Regions from separate parts of the Homo sapiens genome. Here regions 2, 3 and 4 are each linked to region 1. The links are contacts of gene promoters, found by promoter capture Hi-C in human tissues and cell types (Jung and others, 2019). All regions are on one chromosome and are shown on one strand. Each heading gives the region's core, a stretch centred on a gene start or on the middle of the fragment in contact. The rest is flanking DNA. Distances are from core to core; before and after follow the strand shown. Region 1 holds the start of CREBBP (CREB binding lysine acetyltransferase). Region 2 has its middle 7.2 kb from the start of ADCY9. Region 3 overlaps TRAP1 (TNF receptor associated protein 1). Region 4 overlaps ADCY9 (adenylate cyclase 9).

The links. The method cuts DNA at HindIII sites, captures the fragments that hold promoters and counts their contacts. A contact is called where the count stands out against the background at its distance.
Region 2: a contact is called between a fragment that was not itself captured here and the fragment with the promoter of CREBBP in region 1, in 1 of the 25 tissues and cell types used here (dorsolateral prefrontal cortex).
Region 3: a fragment that was not itself captured here is called in contact with the fragment with the promoter of CREBBP in region 1 in 3 of the 25 tissues and cell types used here (aorta, bladder and lymphoblastoid cells).
Region 4: a fragment that was not itself captured here is called in contact with the fragment with the promoter of CREBBP in region 1 in 2 of the 25 tissues and cell types used here (IMR-90 fibroblasts and aorta).

What each region holds. Positions count from the first base shown.
Region 1 is chr16:3,879,066-3,882,200 of GRCh38, reverse strand. CREBBP (CREB binding lysine acetyltransferase) reads left to right here and starts at 1,488. Exons shown (of 31, transcript NM_004380.3): 1 at 1,488-2,369. The coding sequence starts at 2,285. RefSeq lists silencers at 1,013-1,562, 1,583-1,632, 1,970-2,279, 2,320-2,369, 2,450-2,499 and an enhancer at 1,233-1,809. The HindIII fragment of the contact is 21,091 bases long and covers 1-3,135 here.
Region 2 is chr16:4,122,009-4,125,216 of GRCh38, reverse strand. No RefSeq gene overlaps it. Among named protein-coding and RNA genes, the nearest start is that of ADCY9, 7.2 kb to the right of the region's middle. The HindIII fragment of the contact is 7,589 bases long and covers 1-3,208 here.
Region 3 is chr16:3,675,385-3,678,214 of GRCh38, reverse strand. It overlaps TRAP1 (TNF receptor associated protein 1), which reads left to right. Exons shown (of 18, transcript NM_016292.3): 6 at 557-717; 7 at 2,070-2,179; 8 at 2,818-2,830. It also overlaps the pseudogene LOC124903630. Among named protein-coding and RNA genes, the nearest start is that of DNASE1, 22 kb to the right of the region's middle. The HindIII fragment of the contact is 6,931 bases long and covers 1-2,830 here.
Region 4 is chr16:4,102,475-4,105,307 of GRCh38, reverse strand. All of the region lies in intron 2 of ADCY9 (adenylate cyclase 9), which reads left to right. Among named protein-coding and RNA genes, the nearest start is that of ADCY9, 13 kb to the left of the region's middle. The HindIII fragment of the contact is 4,527 bases long and covers 1-2,833 here.

The DNA.
Region 1 (3,135 bases), core at 239-2,738:
TTTTGTTTTTGAGACGGAGTTTCACTCTTGTCGCCCAGGATGGAGTGCAATGGCGAGATCCCGGCTTACTGGCCTCCCCAGTTCAAGTGATTCTCGCATCTCAGCCTCCCGAGTAGCTGGGATTACAGGCGCACGCCGCCACGCCCAGCTAATGTTTGTATTTTTGGTAGAGATGGGGTTTCACCATGTTGGCCAGGCTGGTCTTGAACTCCTGACCTCAGGTGATCTGCCACCGCGCCTGGCCAGGGAGTTGTTTTAAACAGATTTTCTCCCTCTCTTTTCGGGATGTTAACTCTGGTGCTGCGTGGGGAGCAACGTGGAGAGCAAAGAACACTTAAGTGAGTAGCTGCCACCATAGCCACCGGGACAGTGCGGGAGGAGCAGTCTCCCAGGTAAAGACCGTGGGTAGAGGGGCGCGTGGCGGGTGAGAGGGAGGAGTCCGCGCTGACTCACGGGTTTCTGGCTTAGGAAACAGTGGAGCTGCTGATACCTTTATGAGGAAGCCGGGCAAGTTTGGAGGGGCAGATAACTAACTGGGATGGGAACACCTCGGGTATTCGTAGAAGTGTCCCGCGGGCTGTGGTCTCGCGTGGGGGACTCCCCAGGCCCGCACCCCTGTCTGGGGCACCTGCGAGGCGCCAGGCAAGTTGCCTGGGGCGGGGAGTGCGGCCTGAGCGTCCAGGCTTAAGCCCCGATGCGCGGGCCCTTCTCCGCCCAGGCCGGCCCTCGCCACCCCGCTCTCACAGGTGAGGGTGTCTGCCCTGCCGCCTTGGGATGCGAACAGGCGTGAGGCCCCCTCACTCCCTAGTGTCACGAGGTAGGGCGGGACCCGAATCCCGGCCCTGCCACTTCCTGCCTCGACCACTTTGGAGCAGTTGCTCGCCCCCCGCCTCAGTTTCCCCATCCGCCCACCTCGTCGGCAGGACCCAAGGGCGGTCTGTAACCTGCAGAGGCCATTCCACTTCCCTGGCCGGCGGCGAAGGCTAGTGGCGCGGCCTGGGCTGGGGTCGCCCCGACCGTTCCCGACCGACGCCACCTAGGAGGGTCTGGGGAAGGGGACGCGAGGAGCTGGGAACACGCAGCGCCGCCCCAGCGGGACGGGCGGGCCCGGGCTGGCGTCGAATCCGCGCCCGAGAGCCCAGCCCGCGGCCAGGCCGCCGCTCCCGGAGCCCGCTGGGGCCCGGAGCCCCGGCCCTCTACGCCTGGTCGCCATCAGAACAAAAGCTGTGGCTCAGCCCGGAGCCCAGGCGCCCCGCAGGCCTGGCCCGCGCCGGGCCGCCAGCTTCCCTACGCTTGGCGGCCGCGCCTTCAGCCCTTCGGCCCGAGCACGCTCGGCTCTTTCCGCCACGGCCGGCGCAGGTGGAGGGGGCGGGGCGGGGGCCGTGCGTGGTGACGCCGCGGGGGGGTGACGCACCGGCGTGCCCCGCCCCCACCCCCTCCCCGTTCAGGCTCTGGAAAGAGAAGAAAAAAAACTTTCTTTTTTTTTTAATTGAGGAATCAACAGCCGCCATCTTGTCGCGGACCCGACCGGGGCTTCGAGCGCGATCTACTCGGCCCCGCCGGTCCCGGGCCCCACAACCGCCCGCGCACCCCGCTCCGCCCGGCCGGCCCGCTCCGCCCGGCCCTCGGCGCCCGCCCCGGCGGCCCCGCTCGCCTCTCGGCTCGGCCTCCCGGAGCCCGGCGGCGGCGGCGGCGGCAGCGGCGGCGGCGGCGGCGGAACGGGGGGTGGGGGGGCCGCGGCGGCGGCGGCGACCCCGCTCGGCGCATTGTTTTTCCTCACGGCGGCGGCGGCGGCGGGCCGCGGGCCGGGAGCGGAGCCCGGAGCCCCCTCGTCGTCGGGCCGCGAGCGAATTCATTAAGTGGGGCGCGGGGGGGGAGCGAGGCGGCGGCGGCGGCGGCACCATGTTCTCGGGGACTGCCTGAGCCGCCCGGCCGGGCGCCGTCGCTGCCAGCCGGGCCCGGGGGGGCGGCCGGGCCGCCGGGGCGCCCCCACCGCGGAGTGTCGCGCTCGGGAGGCGGGCAGGGGATGAGGGGGCCGCGGCCGGCGGCGGCGGCGGCGGCCGGGGGCGGGCGGTGAGCGCTGCGGGGCGCTGTTGCTGTGGCTGAGATTTGGCCGCCGCCTCCCCCACCCGGCCTGCGCCCTCCCTCTCCCTCGGCGCCCGCCCGCCCGCTCGCGGCCCGCGCTCGCTCCTCTCCCTCGCAGCCGGCAGGGCCCCCGACCCCCGTCCGGGCCCTCGCCGGCCCGGCCGCCCGTGCCCGGGGCTGTTTTCGCGAGCAGGTGAAAATGGCTGAGAACTTGCTGGACGGACCGCCCAACCCCAAAAGAGCCAAACTCAGCTCGCCCGGTTTCTCGGCGAATGACAGCACAGGTGAGGAGGGGGTCCGGGGCGGCGGGGGCCCGGGGCGCGCTGTCACCCCCACCTGAAAGAGAGCGTCCGGGGGTCGTGGTCGCGGATACCGATCGAGCCGGGAGCTCGGAGCAGGCCCCGCAGCCCGTTCCCCTCGCCCCGCGCGGGAGGGTGGAAGTTCGTCGCAGGACTGTCACTGGGCCCGAGTTGGTCAGCACACGCCCGGTGCACTCGGCCTCCCCGCACCCGATCAGCCCTCCTCGCGGGGACCCTAGTGGCACTCCAGGAGGGAAGAAGTAAAGTGCAGCGTGTGGGTTTGTTTGGTAATGTCCTACGCATCCATCCGCGGCCGTGTCCACACGCGTGGCCGTCCAGAGGAATGACAGCGGAGGGTACCTTTGATGCTTAGAGAAAGCAAGATCGCGGCCAAAGGTAGGGCAGTGTGTTTTCTGGATTGGCGACACATTGACCAGGCTGCATTCAGAGGACACTCACAGCAGCCGCCAGCTTGCGAGTTAGAACCGAAGTTTCTTGGAATGAGTGAGTTCCTTGGAAAGATGCTTAGTGCTTATTTTCAAAACTCCTTGTTTTGTGTGTGTGTGTGTGTGTGTGTGTGTGCGCGCGTGTGTGTTTTTAGTCAACTAGTCATTCCATTTTTCAAAACCCAAACTTCGTTAGCAAGATGTCATGAAAGTTGCTGTGGTGTGTTTCATTTCCATGTATAACTTCAAAAGAAAGTTAAACAGCAGGTTTAAGTTCATTTGGGCTGCAATCTCCATTTGAGTTT
Region 2 (3,208 bases), core at 403-2,902, 240 kb before region 1:
CCTCCTCCCTGGAACCCACTACATGCTGGGAAGAGAGAACGCTTCTCTCAGACAGACCAGAGTGTTGAAGTAAGGTCCATTAACCACACGCTCCTCGGGGCTCAATTCACAGCATAGACGCCCAGTGATTTATTCCAGCAGTGTGTGTGTCTCTCAGCAACACTATAAATTGCCAAAGAAGAGCCATGCCTCACCACCCCAAGATGGGGAGGGACCCAGAGAGAATACAGAATGCGGATCCACTGTCTCCTCCTCCTGGATAGCTGCTCATGGCTGTGTCTGAGAGTACGTGGGTGCTGTTCCAAATGAAAACATGATTCCTAGAAAACCGTAAGCTTATGGCTACCGAGAGCAATAAGACTTTTATTAGTTATTGATTTTATTTGTATTCTTTGAGACAAGGTCTCGCTCTGTCACCCAGGCTGGAGTGCAGTGATGCAATCACAGCTCACTGTAGCCTCTACCTCCCGGGCTCAAGCGATCCTCCTACCTCAGCCTCCTGAGCAGCTGAGACTGCAGGCATATGCCACCATGACCAGGTGATTTTTAAATTTTTTGTAGAGACAGGATCTCATCATGTTGCCCAGGCTGGTCTGGAATTCCTGGGATCAAGCAATCCTCCTGCCTCGGCCTCCCAAAGTGTTGGGATTACAGGCATGAGCCACCATGCCTGGCTTCTCCTGGAGTTTTTCTGTTTGAAAAAAAATTATTATCTATTGGCATTGCGATCATATTTGTCTGGCTCACAAACTTATTTTATGTGTTTTTGAGATGGGGTCTCCCTTTGTCACCAAGGCTGGAGTGCAGAGGTGTGATCTCGGCTCACTGCAGCCTTCGCCTCCTAGGTTCAAGTAATTATCCTGCCTCAGCCTCCTGAGTAGCTGGGATTACAGGTGTGCACCACCACGCCCCCCTAATTTTTGTATTTTTAGTTATTTTTAGGAGACATGGGGGTTTCATCATGTTGGCCAGGTTGGTCTTGAACTAACGACCTCAGGCGATCTGCCCTCCTCGGCCTCCCAAAGTGCTGAGATTACAGGCATGAGCCACCGCCCACAGCCGGCAAACTTATTTTTGAGTAATGTTAATGGTATTTTGGTACTACCCCGTGGCTAAAATAAACACGCATCTTCCTAACAAGCCTGCAAGTTTCTCCCATGCTGGCTACAGAAGCATGCTTCCGAGGAAGTTCAGGTTCATCATGGTAGATCCAGCCCCATCTGCAAGTGACTGCCATAGGACTTCAGGGTAAGGGTTGGCAGCACGCCAATAGGATTGAAACTATCCCTACGGATGGTTTGCTGAGCGAAGGTTTTGATACTGAAGGCTGAGACTTCCAGCCTTCTGCCCCTCTCAGCTGAGTGGCAGCAAGCCTGAAGGGTCTTCTCTGGAAAACCTGACTAATTAATCCAAGGAAAAATACCAGCAGATGGTGACACGGGGGTGGGATCCCCGACAAAATGACCTGGCCTGATTATTCTAAACAACACGTGATTACGAGAATCACCCTGGGAGATTTACATGCCTGTCTGCGCCCCTTCCCCATCCCCAGATGGTTGCATCTAGGTGTCATCCTCATTCTCCACACTCTGTTTGAAACCTGCTTTTTCTTGCCGGAGCTTCTCCCTGTAGCTCTCTGTAGTTCTGAAGTTGCGCTGCGCTGTGTCTTGGTGTGGGTCTGTTTCCAGTCATCGTGTTGGCCACTTGCTGGTCCTTTTCAATCACATTCTTCATTTAGGAAAACGTTTCTTGAATGGTTGCTCAGCAGTTTCTCCCTTCTGTGTTCTCTCTTCTTTCTGAAACCCTTTATTATTTGGATGCTGGGTTTCTTGGGCTGTTCTTCTCATTTTCTTGTAGAGACAAGAAAATTCCATTACTCCCTTTTTTTTTTTTTTTGAGCCAGAGTCTTGCTCTGTTGCCCAGGCTGGAGTGCAGTAGTGCAATCTCAGTTCATTGCAATCTCCGCCTCCCGGGCTCAAGTGATTCTCCTGCCTCAGCCTCCCTAGTAGCTGAGATTACGGGTGCCGACCACCACGCCTGGCTAATTTTTATCTTTTTAGTAGAGATGGGGTTTCTCCATGTTGGCCAGGCTGCTCTCAGACTCTTGACTTGAGATGATCCACCCGCCTCGGCCTCCCAAAGTGCTGGGATTACAGGCGTGAGCCACTGTGCCTGGCCCCATCTCTCTTATTTCGCTTTCTCATGGTTCTAGAGGCCAGAAGTGTGAAATCAAAGTGTCCGTGGAGCCACGCTTCTTTTGAAGGTTCTAGGGCAGGATCCTGCCTTGCCTCTGTCAGCCTCTGGAGTCTCCCAGGACCGCTTGGGGTTCCGTGGCTGGTGGCTGCATCACTCTTATCTCTGCCTCTGTCTTTATATGTCTTCTGTCTTGTCTTATCTGTCTTCTCCTCCCCTGCATGTCTCTGTGTCTTTTCCTCTTCTTTTTCTTTTTTTAACTTTAATTTTTTTTTTTTTTTTTGAGACGGAGTCTCACTCTGTTCCCCAGGCTGGAGTGCAGTGGCGGGATCTCAGCTCACTGCAATCACCACTTCCCGGGTTCACACCATTCTCCTGCCTCAGCCTCTTAAGTAGCTGGGACTACAGGCGCCTGCCACCATGCTCTGCTAATTTTTTTGTATTTTTAGTAGAGATGGGTTTCACCGTGTTAGCCAGGATGGTCTCGATCTCCTGACCTCGTGATCCAGCCGCCCTGGCCTCCTAAAGTGCCGGGATTACAGGCGTGAGCCACCGCGCTGGCCTTAACTTTAATTTTTTATTTTGAGACAGGGTGCCCAGGCTGGAATACAGTGGCGGAATCACAACTCACTGCAGCCTTGAACTCCTGGGGTTAAGCGATCTTCCCACCTGGACCTTCTCAGTAGCTAGGACCACAGGTGCGTGCCACCACACCTAGCTAATTTTTAAAAAACATTTTTGGGCTGGGTGCAGTGGCTCATACCTGTAATTCCAGCACTCTGGGAGGCCAAGGCAGGTGGATTGCTTTAATCCAGGAGTTTGAGACCAGCCTAGGTGACATGGCAAAACGCCATCTCTCTAAAAATACAAAAATTAGCCAGGCATGGTGGTGCCTGCCTGTGGTCCCAGCTGCTCAGGAGGCTGAGGTGGAGGGATCACTTGAGCCTGGGAGGAGGACGTTGCCGTGAGCCAAGATCACGCCACTGCGCTCCAGCCTGGGCAACAGAGCAAGGCC
Region 3 (2,830 bases), core at 1-2,500, 200 kb after region 1:
CATCGGACAACGTGGGCCAGGGCAGTGGGCGTGTGTATTTTACTTGACTTTGGCCTTAGGACCTTTGGCAGTATTATAGTAGAAAAATGAAGTGCTGTGCGGTGCTTACAGACGCATGCGCGTGATTTCTACTCTTTTTCCCACAAAGTGTAGAGTCCAGGAGACTTGAATATGGAAGCCAGTTTGGAGCCTCTCCTCACTCCTGGCCTTCCTATGGAAGGAGCTTATTCAAGGGAAAGAGCTTATTCAAGCTGCTCTTTCCCCACCCCCAGGTGTGACCCACAGGCCTCCACCTGTCTGGGACAGGCAGGACTGTGAGCTTTGGGAATCAAATGGAAAACACACTTGTCCCACTGCTGCCAGCTGGTTGTCCTAGGGCTAATGTGTCACCTCTCTGTGACTTAGCTCTTCACGTGTAGAATGGGGTGGAAAAGTACTCGGTGTGGCTGTTTTCAGGATGAAGGGGTCTTAGCGGTGCTCGCAGAAGAGCCACGGTGTTGGGAGTGTCTGCTCTCTGGAGGGGAGGCTGCCTCACTAACTGGCCTCTGCCCCACAGGCCTTCCTGGATGCTCTGCAGAACCAGGCTGAGGCCAGCAGCAAGATCATCGGCCAGTTTGGAGTGGGTTTCTACTCAGCTTTCATGGTGGCTGACAGAGTGGAGGTCTATTCCCGCTCGGCAGCCCCGGGGAGCCTGGGTTACCAGTGGCTTTCAGATGGGTGAGTGACGAATGTCGCCTGACAGGCAGCTCAAAGCTGAGCTGGAGCCCTTAGCATGGAGTTTGGAAAGGGATGGACTCAGAAAACGTACACAGGCATTTTCTGGGCTTTTTATATGAAATCTGACTCTCCCATTTTGGGGAGTTAGTGACTTTTGTGGCTCCAGGTGGCCTATGGCACCTGTCTGGTCCCATGTGGTTGGTCACCACCACTGCGCTCGGGAAGGCAGGTCCGGCCCGCGCTGAGCTCCTTTCTCAGTGGCTGAGCTGCAGGACTGGCCTGTCGCCTGGTGGACACTATGCAGCCTCCTGTGACCGACCTTCTGCAAGAGCTCATTCTGCTTCCTCCCAGCCCTGGCATTTCCTGGCTTTGTCTCCCCAGCCCACTTCTGCCTCTATAGGGTGAGGAGCCTGCTGGGGGCTTTTTTTTTTTTTTTTTCCTTTGGGACGGAGTTTTACTCTTGTTGCCTAGGCTGGAGTGCAATGGCACAATCTTGGCTCACTGCCACCTCCGCCTCCCAGGTTCAAGCAATTGGCCTGCCTCAGCCTCCTGAGTAGCTGGGACTACAGGCGCATGCCACCACGCCCAGCTAATTTTGTATTTTTAGTAGAGACAGGGTTTCTCCATGTTGGTCAGACTGGTCTCGAACCCCGACCTCAGGTGATCTGCCCGTCTTGGCCTCCCAAAGTGCTGGGATTATAGACGTGAGCCACCACGCCTGGCTCCGAGGGCTTTTTAGCAGGTGAGCCGCTTCCAGCCAGCCGAGGCGTCCTCCCTCCGTGATGCCATTTCTGCTCCACAGTGTGTGCACTGTGCTCAGCTTGACTCCCCACTCTCCCAAAACTAACATTCCTGTTTAATTCCATGGGAGCGGGGCTCAGAGTAAACTTAGGCCAAGGCATCAACATGGCCCTGCCGGGGGATTCCCCCCTCCTGTGCTTCGGAGATGGTTTTCTGCTCTTCTTAGGGGGCGCCTGTCCCCCTGGCCTTTGTTTTTGCCCCTGGGCATCTGGCACCCGATTTGGAGCTGGGCCAGTCCCCCACAGTGCCCCAGGCCTGCTTTTGGGGTAAGCCCAGAAGCTTCTTCGAAGCCCAGGGTCGGTGGAGGACCCCCGCCCCCCCGCCCCCCGCCCGAGGGAACCAGGAGAACTCTGCCGCCTGCGACAGGCTCATCGTTCCTGATGGGCATGTGATGGCCTGAGTGGTGCGCTGGGGTCAGAAATGGGGCATTTGAGGTGTGTTGTGTGTTGTTTGGGCTCTGCCTATGAAACCCTCGGGAACCGCTGGAGTCCCATGCAGGGTATGTCCCAGTGTCACATCCACCTGGCTTTTCCTTTCTTTGCCTGCCTTAGTTCTGGAGTGTTTGAAATCGCCGAAGCTTCGGGAGTTAGAACCGGGACAAAAATCATCATCCACCTGAAATCCGACTGCAAGGAGTTTTCCAGCGAGGCCCGGGTGCGAGGTGAGCGGGAGCCCGGGCCCAGGCTCACTCTGGGATCCATGTGTGGCCTGGAGGCCACCAGGTCAGCAGGCATTTTCCCTGGTTCTACCTGCACGTAGGGTGCACAGGCAGAGCCGTGAAGGGCCGAGCCGCTGCGGGACTGGGAGGGGGGCTGCCCGCCAGGGCTGCGTAGCATCGAGCTCCTGCTGGGACTGGGAGGAAGCTGGCCTGGCTGAGGCGGACCTCCTCCTCCTTCCTCTGCGTGGCCCTTGGCCTTTAGTGCACCTGGGGGTTTGGCGCAGTCCTGTCCCAGGATGTGGGCGTGGCCTTCCCTCTTTGTGTCCTGCTGGACACTCAGGGAGGCCCTGAGTACCCCCAGGAGTCAGCCCAGAAAGCCATGTTCCAGCCACAAGCTGACATTGCAGTCTCGCAGCAGCCGGGGCCTCCACAGCTCTGGTTCTCACGTGGGCTCCGCTGCTGCCCCCGTGAGACTGGGGGGAGGACAGGTGTCCCCACTGTGCCCTGTTTCTGTACCTGTGAAGTGTACACAGCATGGAGGACCCTTCCCAGCAGGCTGGCGCTCATCCTGGAGCTGCTGCAAAGCTTGCGTTTCCACAAGCATTGTAGATGCAGTGTGGTTTTTCTTTTGTCCCTTCCAGATGTGGTAACGAA
Region 4 (2,833 bases), core at 167-2,666, 220 kb before region 1:
ATATTTACAGTATTAGAAATTGAAACAAACTGAGAAGCTTAAAAATCTTTTCTAAATTTATTTCAAAATAGTAATTCATTTCACCCATTGCATGTTAATGTAAGTAACATTTTTATAAAAGTAACTATATTTTGTAAAATGAAAAAATTTGATGAGAAGGGTGGCACTGCCATACATTTTTGCAAATCTCTTTAATGTCTGGATTAATAAACGGTTGAAGTTTTTTGTTTTTTTTTTGGTGGATTTTTTTCCCTCTTGTTGCCCACATTGGAGTGCAGTGGCACGATCTCGGCTTACTGCAACCTCTGCCTCCTGGGTTCAAGCGATTCTCCTGCCTCAGCCTCTCGAGTAGCTGGGATTACAGGCACGCACCACCACACCCGGCTAATTTTTTGTATTTTTAGTAGAAACAGGGTTTCAGCATGTTAGCCACTGCGCCCGACCCACGGCTGAGGTTTTTTGAGTGATAAAATGTACACAACAGAAATCTACCGTGTTAAAACACTTTTAAGTGTGTTCGCTGAATTTTCTTAACCGCTTTGGCATTCAATTTGTTGCAATATGTTGAAAAATGTGTAGAAAATCTGGCTTTAGTTGGAAGAGCATTTTCATAGCCTTTTTATGTGATTCTGGATATTTTTCTTTGATTCTGTAGAAACATTCAACAAGTGAGTAGTAGTTTCTTTTTCTTTTTCTGAGATGGGGTCCTACTCTGTCACCCAGGCTGGAGTGCAGTGGTGCTACCATAGCTCACTCCAGCCTTGACCTCCTGGGCTCAAGTGATCCTTCTGCCTTGGCCTACCAAGTAGCTGGGACTACAGGCATGCACCACCACACCCCGCTGATTTTTTATTTTGAGTGGTAGTTTCTTAAATGTTAGTTGCAATATGGAATCTGAAATTTTATTATCTTTTTTTGTACACTATTATATTAAATGCTGTTGGGTTTTTACCCAGGTGTGATTTTATAACGTCATGCACTAGTCATTTGGAAAATATTGGTCTCTTGAATGATGCAGCTCTTCCACATGTTGACGTCAGTAAAGTCTAATAGTCTGAAGATGTTGAGTTCATCACAGTGGCTGATGTAAGTTTTCCAAAACTCTACTTGAAAACTGGAATTTTTTATCATTGGCGGCAAATACTGTCAGTTATTTTCCTTGAAGCGACAGACTCATTCATATTCCCAGGAATGGTCTGCCCGTACTCAAGCCTGAACGACCGTGGTTTGTCTGTAGGTCACGTGTAAATAATGTGCTACCAAAAAGGTGGCCAGTTCAGCTTGCAATCCAAACAGCTGCACAGCTGCTTTTCTCCAGGACCGCTGTGCTTTGATGGGCAGCAGCGTCGTCGTAGGCGTGCTTCTCATTTCATCACTCAGACTATTCAGAAGACACCTACTCAAGCTTGCGATTTAACCAATCATTCATGTTGACAGCTTCATCTGGGACATTCTTTTTTTTCTTTTTTCTGTTTTTGTGACAGAGTCTCGCTCTGTCGCCCGGGCTGGAGTGCAGTGGTGTGATCTTGGCTCACTGCAACCTCCGCCTCCTGGGTTCAAGTGATTCTCCTGCCTCAGCCTCCCAAGTAGCTGGGATTTACAGATGTGTGCCACCACGCCCGGCTAATTTTTGTCTTTATGGTAGAGACGGGGTTTCGCCATATTGGCCAGGCTGGTCTTGAACTCCTGACCTCAGGTGATCTCCCTACCTCGGCCTCACAAAATGCTGGGATTACAGGCGTGAGCCACTATGCCCGGCCCATCAGGGACATTCTTAAGTGAAGCTGTCTGCCTTTCCTTTCGTAAGTGTGGGGTAGTGAAGGACAAGCTGAGGGCTAGTGCAGTTTGGTTTCCCTGCATCGGGACCTGCTCAGGCACTAGCAGTTTCACCCATGGCTTCTTCTGCACTGTCACTGCAAGTGTCAACACTGAAGAAGGCAAATGCTGTCTTAGTGTCATTGTGCAAATAGTTTAGACTCCACAGATGCCTTGCAAAGGCCTCAAGGACCTCTAGGGATCTGCGGATCACACTTTGAGTACTGCTTCGCTAGCTGGGCTGCAAGATGGGAAGACTGAGGGTTTTGTATGTGCCACCCAAACACGCATTCTCATGTGTGTGAAACAACGCCAATTGGAGTTGTCACACCCATTACATATTGCCTGTGGAAATAGCAAGTGACCTTAGTTCATACATTGACCTTTTCTTACAAAATCCTTAAAAATCTTTTGTGATTCTGGTAAATCTTTGTTGCTCATGTTCAAAGTGTGTGATAAAGACCATCAACTTCGAGCTGGCCATGGCTCGTGCCTGTAATACCAGCGCTTTGGGAGGCCGAGGTGGGTGGATCACCTGAGGTCAAGAGTTGGAGACCAGCCTGGCCAACACGGTGAAGCTCCGTCTCTCCTAAAAATACTATAATTAGCCAGGCGTGGTGGTGGGCACCTGTAATCCCAGCTACTCAGGAGGTTGAGGCAGGAGAATCACTTGAACCTGGGAGGCGGAGGCTGCAGTGAGCCGAGATGGCACCACTGCATTCCAGCCTGGGCGACAGAGCGAGACTCTGCCTCAAAAAACAAACACATGGCTGGGCGCAGTGAGTCACGCCTGTAATCCCAGTACTTTGGGAGGCCGAGGCGGGCGGATCACCTGAGGTCGGGAGTTCGAGACCAGCCTGACCAACATGGAGAAACCCCGTCTCTACTAAAAACACAAAATTAGCCAGGCATGGTGGCACATGCCTGTGGTCCCAGCTACTCGGGCGGCTGAGGTAGGAGAATTGCTTGAATCCAGGAGGCGGAGGTTGCGGTGAGCTGAGATCATGCCACTGCTCTC